Regions from separate parts of the Homo sapiens genome. Here regions 2 and 3 are each linked to region 1. The links are contacts of gene promoters, found by promoter capture Hi-C in human tissues and cell types (Jung and others, 2019). All regions are on one chromosome and are shown on one strand. Each heading gives the region's core, a stretch centred on a gene start or on the middle of the fragment in contact. The rest is flanking DNA. Distances are from core to core; before and after follow the strand shown.

Region 1 (4,514 bases), core at 569-3,068:
TGGTGCATGCTCATCTGTCTCCAACCTCATCTGATGAGAACATCTCCTTCCCTGCTGCCAGGAGGTGCCCCAGCATGGGCATGTCTGCCCGTGAAGTTCAACCCGTAAGGAATTCCCTGCCAGCCTGTGGCTCATTGGTCTGGAATTCCAGGTGCTGCTCTTAGTAGCCCCTAAGCACATCCAGGGAAAAGCTGGCACGTTTATGTCAGTGCCACTCAATGGCCTGAGCCTGCCTGCTGCCCAGAGGCAGCGAGAGGGGAGAACGTGAACCACACCAAAGCATACTGTGTGGTCCATGCCAGGACTTCTTGGGACCAATGTGCCTCATGGAGACTGGGATCAAAGGACAGCTGTGCCCAAAAGAGGCTCAGCTTACCAGCCCTTCAGCCCCATAAAGTCGGGGAGTCATGGGGGGTAGGAAGAATGAGAGAAAGAGAGAGAGACCTACAGGTGAGAGAAAGAGAGAGAGACCTACAGGTGTGCAGTGCCTGATAGAAACAGTGACCTTCGCCCACCGGCAAAGCTGTCCTCACCAATGTCCTGGTGCCTGGTCATTCACTCATGGGGAAAAGAAGAGCAGAAGTAGAGTGAGGGTAGAAAGCCCCTTCCCCCACATTTTCAAATGTACCTGGACAAGCATCCTTATTCACAGCTGGAAGAAGTTGGATTCAGTAGAATGCCATTTGGAAAACACCGTTCTGAAGTGCCATCCCCTCTGGCCCCTGAATCCTCACCAGCTTCCACCCTCTGCTCACCTTGGGCCCTGGATTCCAGCGCCCCCAGGCTCCCAGCTGCCTCCCTGTCTCTGCCCCATGGTCCGGCCTGGAGTTCTGGTCCCTGGTTGTGTCCTGTGGCCCCATTCTCATGCGCCCTTTGCTTCTGTTTCTTTACCTATGACTTTATACTGATGTAAAGCGAGTCTTCTCGGTCGCTTCTTGTTCTCTGAGGAATGATGAATCAGAATCTAAATGGAAAATCTGGGCAGAGATAGAACCTCCCGCGGGAGCCACCCTGCCCTTCCATGTCTAGATCATCTGGGTTCCAACCTCCATCCTCCTCCAATGAGAAGCTTTTGTTCTCTCAAGATTCCAGTGACTTCTCCGAAGCTTAGGTGTCTCTTCACCCCTGGCTGTTCCAAGGCGGCCCCATAGTCAAGATTCCTTAAACCCTTGCCCCTTAAAATGTTTGCCTTTCTTACCATGCTGGCTCCAGCCTCTGGTCCCAGGGGTGTGGAGAGTTCTCTCTTACTTCTGGCTGATTTCCAGGAAGGCTAAGCACACTCTCCCCAGGTTATAATGCTGAGCATTTTGGTTCTCTCCAGCCCTGGGTCCCAATGTCAGGACCTACCTTAGTCCAGTCCATGCTCTCCCATGGGCCTGAGAGAAGATTTGAGGTTTCTGGCTTTCCCTCCAACCCTCCAACTCCCACCCCAAGCCATGTCAGCAAGGGGAAGGGGCAAACATGGAGTTTCCCCCCCAACTCCCATGTAAACTATGCCCCCTCTTAGAGGGCAGAGCAGCTAAGGACAATTTTGTTTCAAGGACATTTTTTTTGGCTGTGTATTGCACAAACAAGTGGACACCCGGGAGCTGGCCCTGCTCGTCCCCTGGGCCCTCCTTCCCTGGTCCTGCAGGTCTTGCTGCTTGTCAGGCCTCTCCTCCAACCCTCTGCCACATTTCAGAAAAGCTGAGAATCCCTTGGAGTGAAAAAGGAGGAGAAACACAGTGTCCGTAGCCCAGAAGGAGGTTAAATACTTTCACTTCTCTTTTCCCCATTTGGGCGGAGCCCTTTCTGAGTCAGTCTGTCGGCCGACTTCCTGCTTGGGGCCTGGGCAGCCACACTGCACGCAGGCTGGGCCGACTGAGGGGCTCAGAGGCCAGGCTCTGAGGCCCACGCAGGGCCTAGGGTGGGAAGATGGCAGGTGGGGGCGGCGACCTGAGCACCAGGTGAGTCTTTATCTCCCTTCCTTTAACCTTTATCTCTGGCTATATTGCAGCTTTCATGCCTTTAGTTCAGTTTGTGCCTAAGGCTTCACTTTAATCCTTCTTTGCAAGAACATAGGTATGCGATGTTATATAATGAAATGAAAGACAAGTAATGAGGAAATCAGATTTTTTAAACAGGAGCAGGACAGCTGTTGGTGTGAGTTCAACTTGCCATAACACACGTGACTTTCTTGTTTTGGATTTACTGCTCAGCTGACCGGGACACTCTAAACATAGCAGTTGTTGGTGGCTGGGATTAACTATTTCCTCATGATCTGTGAACCCTTTCACCCCTCAGCCTTCCTCTACCTTCAAATATGTCATGTCAAAAAAGGTGCTTTAGAAAATAAACACTCCAGGGTAAACACCTGGCTTACTTTTAAACATCAGACGCTGTGGTCTCACCTGTCCTGGCAAGGGGCCTCTGCCGGCTGTTCCCATGACTGGCTCAGGGTCTGAGTTCTTATTCCATCAACCTTGATCAAAAGAAGGAAAGGGAAGAAAAAGGCCCAGGGTGACAAACGGCTAAATATTTTCATTTTTACCTCAATTTCCTGTCCCAAGATGGGGGATACCTCTGACCAGAAAAGAGAAGGAAATCCTAACTTTTCTCTAGTAGTGAGTTGAGAAATAACATTACTTAATCTTTTAAATTTTTTAATACAAAAGAAATACACTGTACATTATTGTTCATAAAATTTAAAACAGTGGAGAAGTATATTAAGGAAAAAGTCATCTTTGCCACTCAGCCATTCTTGTAGCTTCTCTTCCCAGTCCTGTGAAGAGTCTTGGGCACAGCTTTTCTTATATTTTTCTATGCATTTATATATCTAATGCATTTTTTGTAAATACGTAATTTATGTTCTTGATTTATAATAAATTATATTACATGTGCTAGTCTGCATTTTGCATTTTTACTTATTTTAATAGTGGAAAACTTAGAGATCTTTTAACCTTAATACATATAGATCTGCCTCATTCTTTTTATACATGCTATTCCATAGAATTGATATATGATAATTATTTATTCTCCAATTGAAGGACATTTAGATTGTTTTTAAATTGTTCACATTTACCAATAAGCTATCATAACAATGATTATATATTTCTTTTTGGGTTTTTACATCTAAACAAATATTTATCTTGTCTCTAAACCTTAAAAATGTAATTATTGAGGCAAAGGGTCCAGTTATTTACTTGGTCCTGCCAAATTGTCTTTCTAGGAGGCTGAATGAATGTATTTCACCAGTAGCAAATGAGATGAACCATCTTCCTGCACACAGCCACGATTTGCAAAGGTGATGAATGAAGAGTTATGTCTTGTTTTAATTTGTATTTTCCTTACGATGGGAAAATTGATCAGCTTTTCATGTTTCTTGGCCATTTAAATTCCCTCTTCTATAAATTGCTTGTTTGTTTTTTGCCAATATGATTCCGTTGAGGTGTTTGTCCTTTTTTTCGTGATATGGGAGAATTCACTAAATATTCTGTAAGTATAAATATACTTTTCTTGTCCATTACCTTTGTCTATGGTGACTTTTATCTTATTAAAGCTTAAAACTTAACATATAGGCCTCTTGTGATACAGATTTTTTTAAGATAGATGCACCCTTGTTATAAACGAGGTGATGCTGACACCCTCTGTGAGCACTCTTAGTTTTTACAATTATTTCTGTGTTAAGGTGGCAGATTCGCTGCTACCGCTATTCCAGGAAGAGTTCCTCCTCTAATATCTCTGAAAATTTTTTAAATTTTTAAACAAAAATATTCTTACATTGGAGCCACTTTAGCCTTCACAGCTTTTATTTGCCCCGTTTTCATCTTTTCAGTCTTTCACTTTGTGTTCATAATAGTTGTCTCAAACTTTTCCTCCATGACAATTATTTACCTTCTAGTAGGTTTCTTGTTTCTTGTCATTTCTAATTTTTTAAAAATTGATAGTGTTTATTTTTGAGGAGGGATCTTAATTGGTTTCTGTACGCCTGCAAGCTCCATAACCTCTTGTCATTCAGTCTTCACAGTCTTGCTTTATTTAGGTTTGCCTGTGCTGTTAAGAACTTTGGGATATTCTCCTTGTTGTCTCTTAGTTATTTTTCCAGACTGATTCTGTCTGATCTTGTGTTCCACGTGCCTGTGGTGGCTTTACAGCTCCTCTAGCCAGGCTTGGCCAGGGCAGGTCACCCCAAACTTCCCGTTTGCTTAGTCATAATCTGGATGAACTTTTTTTCTTTTTTTTTTTAACATTCCCTGTTTTATCTGAGATCAAATTGTTTTTTGTCTGAGCTACAGTTTGAAGTCTTTGTTTTGATTCTTATCAATTTTTCTGAGTTCACCGTTGATTGATTAAATTATCCTTTTCCCTGCTGATTCGCAGTGCTACCCTTTTTGGGAGTATAGAGGCAGGGTGTGCTTCTGTGTTCTCTCTTCTCTCCCCTTGGCCGGTGACAGCCCCTCCTTATGCCAGTACCACGCTGCCATAGTGATGGCAGCTTCCCAGGAACTCTTGACATCTGAGGGAGCAAATCTCTT
Region 2 (4,514 bases), core at 1,311-3,810, 400 kb before region 1:
CAAAATAGGAACAATATCATCAAGTGAACATCCTGTGTCTCCCCAGCATCCTCAGTGGTTGAAACACTTTGTCCCTCCCTCCCCCATCTCATTTTCCATGTGAGGTTCCATGTGACGATCCCATAACATGGTAATAGGCAGCGATGGTCTTGACTTTCTGCTTCTATTAACAGCTTTCATTTCTATTTCTGCTTTCATGTGGATGGATAAATCTGCTTTATGTCTTAACATTTCAGAGTGAAATGCCACACAATTTTTTTTTTTTTTTTTTTTTGAGGCAGAGTTTTGCTCTTTTCACCCAGGCTGGAGTGCAATGGTGCAATCTCAGTTCATGGAACCCTCCACCTCCTGGGTTCAAGTGATTCTCCTGCCTCAGTTTCCCGAGTAGCTGGGATTATAGGAGCCTGCCACAATGCCCTGCTAATTTTTGTATTTTTAGTAAAAACAGGGTTTCACCATGTTGGCCAGGCTGGTCTCGAACTCTTGACCTCACGTGACCTGCCCGCCTCAGCCTCCCAAAGTGCTGGAATTACAGGTGTGAGCCACGCTGCCCAGCCTTACAGCATTTTATAATCTTGTCCTTTTTCATCTTTTCAATCAACTGTGTTTCTACTCTGTTCTCATTTACCATTGTAATTATACAATACTGAAAATTTCCAATGGTTTATATATTTAGTGGTATAAGAACAATCTATTAACAATAGAAAATACATATTTTTAATTTATAACTAAATAATAAACATATTTTACTTAATGTCAAGTTCTACTACTACTTTTTTCCCAAACAGGTTGGCATATGTATGCATTAAGCCTCAGCAATATAGAATCCAAAATTTTTTCATTCTTTTTTTTTTTTGAGACAGAATCTTGCTGCTGTCGCCCAGGCTGGAGTGCAATGGTACAATCTCGGCTCACTGCAATCTCTGCCTCCTGGGTTCAAGCAATTCTCCTGCCTCAGCCTCCCAAGTAGCTGGGATTACAGACATGTGCCACCATACCGGGCTAATTTTTGTATTTTTAATAGAGACAGAGTTTCACCATGTTGGCCAGGCTGGTCTCAAACTCCTTACCTCGTCATCCACCCACCTTGGCCTCCCAAAGTGCTGGGATTACAGGCATGAGCCACCGTGCCCGGCCTAAAATGTTTTCTTCTACTGAGTAGGCCCCAGAACTAAGGCTGAGGTGATCATGTGGGGAGGGACTGCAAGCAGGGGTAAGGACAATGCACCAGGTACCACTTGTCATTGTTTTGTGAGCTGCTTGTGTATATAATGGTTATCAGTCTTTATTTATTACCCCAAACTGACTCCTGAAATACCGAAGAATAATATAAAACAACCTTACTAAAAACAGAAAAGTTCATCACAGTTTTTTGCTCTGAGTTTTAGTATAATGACCTCTATCTTCAGTTTGTATTAATATACTGTGAGAGCGTATCCAAGCTTTTCAATTGTGAGTAGTTGGTTTCAACTTGAAATGGATGTCTTTGATGTCATGTTAAAAACATCAAGTGATAAAAAATATCTTGAGACAAATGACAATGGAAACACAATATCAAAAGCAATCTAAGAGGGAAGTTTATAGCAATAAATGCCTATATTAAAAAAGAAGAAAGACCCCAGGCCAGGTGCAGTGGCTCATTCCTCTAATCATGGCACTTTGGGAAGCTGAAACGGGAGGATCCTTTGAGCCCAGGAGTTCAAGACCAGCCTGGGCAATATAAGGAGACCCTGTCTCTACAAAAAATAAAAAGATCAGCCCAGCATGGTGGCACAGGCCTGTGGTCCCAGCTACTTGGGAGGCTGAGGTGAGAGGATCGCTTGAGCCCAGAGGTCGAAGCTCTAGTGAGCTGTGATCACACCCCTGCACTCCAGGCTGGGCAACAGAGTAAGACTGTTTCAAAAAAAAAAAAAAAGGAAAAAGAAATACCCTAAATAAATAGCCTAACATTACATCTCAAGGAGCCAGTAGAAGAACAAACTAAATCCAAAGTTAGCAGAAGGAAGGAAATAAAGATTCGAACAGAAAAAATCAAATAGAGAACAGAAAAACCATAGGAAAAACTCAATAAAACCAAGAGTTAGTTCTTCGAAAAAATAAACAAAATCAGCAAACCCCTAGCTAAACTAAGGAAAAAAGAAGACTCAAATAAAATCAGAGATGAAAGTGGAGCCATTCCAACAGATGCCTCAGAAATAAAAGGAATCATAAGGGACTATTATGAATAATTATATGCCAACAAATTGTATAACCTAGAAGAAATGGATAAGTTCCTAGAAAAGTATAACCCACCAAGATTGAATTGATGAGAAATAGAAAGCTTGAACAGAATAACAAGTGAAGAGATTGAAGAAGCAATTAAAAACCTTCCAGTGAAGAAAATCTCAGGACCAGATGGCTTTCGTGGTTGATTTCTACAAACATACAAAGAAGAATTGTCACCAATACTTCTTAAAGACTTCCGAATAATAGAGCTAGAGGGAATACTTCCAAACATATTTTATGAGACCAGCATCATCTTGATACCAAAGCCAGACAAAAACACAAGACAAGAAAAGAAAACTTCAGGCCAGCATCTCTGATGAGCATTGATGCGAAAATCCTTCATAAAATATTAGAAAACTGAATTCAACAACACAAAAAGATTGTACATCAAGACAAAGTGAGATTTATCTCTGGCATGCAAAGCAGGTTTGACATACACAAATCAATCAGTGTGATACATTATCTTAACAGAATGAAAGAGAAAATACATAATTATCTTAATTGACAAACATTTGACAAAGTTCAGTATCCTTTCTTAATGAAAACTTAACTATGTATAGAAGGAAAGTTCCTCAACATAATAAAGGCAGTTTACAAAGACCTCACAGCTAACAACATAACCAACAAGGAAAAACTGAAAACTTTTTCCACTAAGATCCAGTACAAGGCAGGGATGCTCACATTCACCACTTCTATTCAACATAGTACTGCAAGTGCTTGCTAGCAAGAGCAATCAGACAAGAAAAAGAAAGAAAAACATCCAAGTTGAAAAGGAAGAAGTAAAATTATCTCTATTTGCAGATGACATGATTCTATAGGTAGAAAACCCCAAAGATTTGACAAAAAACTGTAACTAATAAATGAAGTCAGTAAAGTTGCAGGATACAAAATCAACATACAAAAAAATCAGTAGCATATCTATACACAATTCTTTTTCTAGCTGAAAAAGAATTCAAGAAACCAGTCACATTTACGACAGCATCACAAACTAAAATATCTGGCCAGGTGCGGTGGCTCATGCCTGTAATTCCAGTACTTTGGGAGGCCGAGGTGGGTGGATCACCCGAGGTCAGGAGTTCAAGACCAACATGGTGAAACCCTATCTCTGCTAAAAATACAAAAAAATTGCAGGGTGTGGTGGCAGGCGCCTGTAATCCCAGCTACTCAGGAGGCTGAGGCAGGAGAATTGCTTGAACCCAGGAGGCAGAGGTTGCAGTGAGTCAAGATTGTACCACTGCACACCAGCCTGGGTGACAGAGCAAGACTGTCAAAAAAAAAAAAAAAGAAAAAACAAACTTAAAATATCTGGGAACAAATTTAGTCAAGGACATGAAGGATTGATACACTGAAAACTATAAAACTGATGAAAGAAATCAAAGAAGACACAAATAAATACATATATTCATGGATGGGAAAATTTAATATTGTTCAAATGTCTGTATTACCTAAAGAAATATGCAGATTTAATACAGTGCCTATCAAAATTCCCAAGGACATTCTTCACAGAAATAGAAAAAAAAAAAAAAAAAAGCCTGGGTAGTATAACAAGACCCTGTCTCTTAAAGAAAAAAAAGTTAAAAATTAGCTGGGTGTGGTGGTGCATGCCTGCAGTCCCACATACCATGGAGCTGAGGCAGGAGGATTGTTTGAGCCTAAGAGTTCAAGGTTGCAGTGAGCTATGATCATGCTACTGCACTCCAGCCTGGGCAACAGAGCAAGGTCTTGTCTCTAAGTAAAATAATAAAGAAAAAAATCCTGAAATTAATATAGAACCACAAAATACTTAGAATAGCCAAAGCAATACTGAGAGAAAATGTTTGAGGCCTCACACTTCCTGATTTAAAATTATATTATAGAGCTATACTAATCAAAACACTATAGTACTGGCAGAAAAACGGAAACATAGACCAATGGAACAAAATTGAAAGCCCAGAAATAAGTCCAAACACATAGGATCAATTAATTCTCAACAAGGGCACCAAGAGGACAAAATGGGGATAGGATAATGTCTTCAATAAATGGTGCTGGGAAAACTAGATTGCCACTGCAAAAGAATGAAATTTGACCCTTACCTTACACCATACATAAAACTCAACTCAAAATGGATAAAAGACCTAAATGTAAGACCTGAAACCATAAAACTTCTAGGCGAAAACTCCTCCTCCTGGGCTCAGTCCTTGACATAGGCCTTGGCAATGATTTTTTGGATATCATACCAAAAAACCAGGCTACGAAAGCAAAAATAAATA
Region 3 (4,514 bases), core at 1,271-3,770, 390 kb after region 1:
ATCAACAAAATTGATAGACCGCTAGCAAGACTAATAAAAAAGAAGAGAGAAGAATCAAATAGACGCAATAAAAAATGATAAAGGGGAGATCACCACCGATCCCACAGAAATACAAACTACCATCAGAGAATACCATAAACACCTCTATGCAAATAAACTAGAAAATCTAGAAGAAATGGATAAATTCCTGGACACATACACCTTCCCAAGACTAAACCAGGAAGAAGTTGAATCGCTGAATAGACCAATAACAGGCTCTGAAATTGAGGCAATCATTAAAAGACTGTCAACCAAAAAAACTCCAGGACCAGACGGATTCACAGCCAAATTCTGCCAGAGGTACAAGGAGAAGCTGGTACCATTCCTTCTGAAACTATTCCAATCAACAGAAAAAGAGGGAATCTTCCCTAACTCATTTTATGAGGCCAGCATCATCCTGATACCAAAGCCTGGTAGAGACACAACAAAAAAAAACTTTAGACCAATATCCCTGATGAACATCAATGCGAAAATCCTCAATGAAATACTGGCGAACTGAATCCAGCAGCACATCAAAAAGAGTATCCACCACGATCAAGTGGGCTTCATCCCTTCGATGCAATGCTGGTTCAACATACGAAAATCAATAAACATAATCCGTCACATAAACAGAACCAAAGACAAAAACCATGTGATTATCTCAATAGATGCAGAAAAGGCCTTTGACAAAATTCAACAGCCTTTCGTGCTAAAAACTCTCAATAAACTAGGTATTGATGGAACGTATCTCAAAATAATCAGAGCTATTTATGACAAACCCACAGCCAATATCATACTGAATGGGCAAAAACCGGAAGCATTCCCTTTGAAAAGTTGCACAAGACAGGGATGCCCTCTCTCACCACTCCTATTCAACATAGTGTTGGAAGTTCTGGCCAGGGCAATCAGGCAAGAGAAGGAAATAAAGGGTATTCAATTAGGAAAAGAGGAAGTCAAATTGTCCCTGTTTGCAGATGACATGATTGTATATTTAGAAAACCCCATCATCTCAGCCCAAAATCTCCTTAAGCTGATAAGCAACTTCAGCAAAGTCTCAGGATACAAAATCAAGGTGCAAAAATCACAAGCATTCTTATACACCAATAACAGACAGAGAGCCAAATCATGACTGAATTCCCATTCACAATTGCTACAAAGAGAATAAAATACCTAGGAGTGCAACTTACAAGGGATGTGAAGGACCTCTTCAAGGAGAACTACAAACCACTGCTCAACGAAATAGAAGAGGACACAAACGGAAGAACATTCCATGCTCATGGATAGGAAGAATCAATATCATGAAAATGGCCATACTGCCCAAGGTAATTTATAGATTCAATGCCATTCCCATCAAGCTACCACTGACTTTCTTCACAGAATTGGAAAAATCTACTTTAAAGTTCATATGGAACCAAAAAAGAGCCCGCATTGCCAAGACAATCGTAAGCACAAAGAACAAAGCTGGAGGCATCACACTACCTGACTTCAAACTCTACTACAAGGCTACAGTAACCAAAACAGCATGGCACTGGTACCAAAACAGAGATATAGACCAATGGAACAGAACAGAGGCCTCAGAAATAACACCGCACACCTACAACCATCTGATCTTTGACAAACCTGACAAAAACAAGAAATGGGGGAAAGGATTCCCTATTTAATAAATGGTGCTGGGAAAACTGGCTAGCCATGTGTAGAAAGCTGAAACTGGACACCTTCCTTACACCTTATACAAAACTTAATTCAAGATGGATTAAAGACTTAAATGTTAGACCTAAAACCATAAAAACCCTAGAAGACAACCTAGGCACTACCATTCAGGACATAGGCATGGGCAAGGACTTCATGACTAAAATACCAAAAGCAATGGCAACAAAAGCCAAAATAGATAAATGGGATCTAAATAAAGAGCTTCTGCACAGCAAAAGAAACTACCATCAGAGTGAACAGGCACCCTACAGAATGGGAGAAAATGTTTGCAATCTACCCATCTGACAAAGGGCTAATATCCAGAATCTACAAAGAACTTAAACAAATTTACAAGAAAAAAATCAAACAACCCCATCAAAAAGTGGGCAAATGATATGAACAGACACTTTTCAAAAGAAGACATTTATGCAGCCAACAGACACATGAAAAAATGCTCATCATCTCTGGTCATCAGAGAAATGCAAATCAAAACCACAATGAGATACCATCTCACACCAGTTAGAATGGCGATCATTAAAAAGTCAGGAAACAACAGGTGCTGGAGAGGATGTGGAGAAATAGGGACACTTTTACACTGTTGGTGGGCGTGTAAACTAGTTCAACCATTGTGGAAGACAGTGTGGCGATTCCTGAAGGCTCTAGAAATAGAAATACCATTTGACCCAGTGATCCCATTACTGGGTATATCCCCAAAGGATTACAAATCATACTACTATGAAGACACATGCACACGTATATTTACTGTTGCACTATTCACAATAGCAAAGACTTGGAACCAACCCAAATGTCCATCAGTGACAGACTGGATTGAGAAAATGTGGCACATATACACCATGGAATACTATGCAGCCTTAAAAAAGGATGCATTCGTGTCCTTTGTAGCGACATGGATGAAGCTTGAAACCATCATTCTGAGCAAACTGTTGCAAGGACAGAAAACCAAACACCGCATGTTCTCACTCATAGGTGCGAATTGAACAATGATGAGAACCCTTGGACACAGGGCGGGGAACATCAAACACCGGGGCCTGTCATGGGGTGGCGGGGTGGGGGAGGGATAGCATTAAGAGAAATACCTAATGTAAATGATGGGTTAATGGGTGCAGCAAACCAACATGGCACATGTATACATATGTAACAAACCTGCATGTTGTGTACATGTACCCTAGAACTTAAAGTATAATTAAAAAAAAAATACAAAAAAAAATGGCTTCTGAGCAGTTTGGAAACTGTACCCACAGCCATCATGGATTCACTAAGAGGAAGTTCAGTCATATTGATCTCATAGGTACTGGTGGATTGGGGGAGTAAAAGGGCATGGCTGCCTAGGTTCACACCAGCTCTGCTGCTGATCTCACCTCCAATCTCTTCATCTGTTCAGATTCAGGTAATAACATGACCATATCAGTTGTTGTGCCTTCACACAGTGTCTATGCAGTAAACATTAGCTGTTAGAATTACTCCTTCATCACAACAAGGATATGCTAGATGTTGTATAATTCTACAAATCTGTTTTCATGGAAACAGTAAAACTGAGCTAGATGGAGTTTCAGTATAGTAATTCACAACCAGTTGTATGTTATATCCATATGCTATTGGCACGTAAATTGCCGTCACCCTGCAGAGAAACTTCTAGCGAATTTCCACGGGGCTTTCCCCACCCAGCTGAACGTTTTTATTAGTGACTGAAATAAAAGGTGACAAGGCATACTTATCAAATGTGTAGATGTTAGCCAGGAAGGGAAGGACAGCAGATAACAGAGGATCCTAAAACTTAGAAAGGTCAGAGAGACCAGAATATAGCAGGATGAAGTTAAATACAGATAACTGAGGTCTTCCACTTGAGGACCCAGCTGTATAAAATATGGGATGGAGGAATAACACAATAATAATAAATACAAAATGAGATACTAAGTATAATAATTACTAGGATGTAGATAATTTCATATCATACTCAACCCTAGGAAGGCAGTGTTGTTATTACTGACTTTACAGATGAGGAAAGTGAAGCCTAGAGATTTTGATTGAAATCAGACAATAAATGGGGAAGTCAGACTGCGGACCCAGGCAGGCAGGCTACCAGAGCCCACTTTGAGTAAACAATTTTGAATACCCCCAATACAATTAAGCAGTATGATAATGTGTTCCCCAGAGCTCCATGTGACCACGTAGTATGTAACCTAAGGAGCTAACTGATAGTCTCACTCCACTATGAGCTTATCAGGTAACAACACATAAATGTGTTCCATTCCAGGCGCTACACTTTAAGAGGCACATAGACAAATAGATGACTTTCAGAAGACAGTAGATGGTGAGGGGGACTCAGAACCCTGTCATTCGAGGAGTGGTTAAAGGAACTGGAAGTATTTAGCCTGGAGAAGAGAAGCCTCGGTAGGGACCTGCCATGAGAGCACTACTTGTATTTGAAGTGGGGTCCCATAGAAAATGGACAAAACATGGATCTGTCAGCTCTGATGGTTCCTGGCATAGTATTTGGGGATAGGTCTGACCCTAGCACAGGGAGAACTTTCTCACTGTAAGAACTCCAGAGGTGAACCACACAACTGGAAAAATTGAGTTTCTTGTCCTTAGACATAATCAAACATCAAGTAGGAAATGGGGCCAAATGGTTTGCCAAGATGAATGTGAAAATAAGCCCCCTGGGTTAGCAGGATTTCTTCAGGGATCCCAGGGCTGTCTTAGTCACATGATGTTTCAGCCCAAACTCAAGCTTTTAGGAAGCTTTTAAATTCAGCCTACCCTAAAAGTTGGCTGCTTAGTCTGCT

The links. Contacts are between HindIII fragments. The study calls those that stand out against the background at their distance.
Region 2: a fragment that was not itself captured here is called in contact with the fragment with the promoter of SP100 in region 1 in 1 of the 25 tissues and cell types used here (mesenchymal stem cells).
Region 3: a fragment that was not itself captured here is called in contact with the fragment with the promoter of SP100 in region 1 in 1 of the 25 tissues and cell types used here (spleen).

What each region holds. Positions count from the first base shown.
Region 1 is chr2:230,414,383-230,418,896 of GRCh38, forward strand. It overlaps SP100 (SP100 nuclear antigen), which reads left to right and starts at 1,819. Exons shown (of 29, transcript NM_001080391.2): 1 at 1,819-1,946; 2 at 3,209-3,283. The coding sequence starts at 1,915. RefSeq lists an enhancer at 1,466-1,985. The HindIII fragment of the contact is 8,532 bases long and covers 1-4,514 here.
Region 2 is chr2:230,013,160-230,017,673 of GRCh38, forward strand. No RefSeq gene overlaps it. Among named protein-coding and RNA genes, the nearest start is that of SLC16A14, 54 kb to the right of the region's middle. The HindIII fragment of the contact is 3,987 bases long and covers 568-4,514 here.
Region 3 is chr2:230,802,488-230,807,001 of GRCh38, forward strand. The region is part of intron 5 of CAB39 (calcium binding protein 39); the gene reads left to right. Among named protein-coding and RNA genes, the nearest start is that of ITM2C, 60 kb to the right of the region's middle. The HindIII fragment of the contact is 3,888 bases long and covers 577-4,464 here.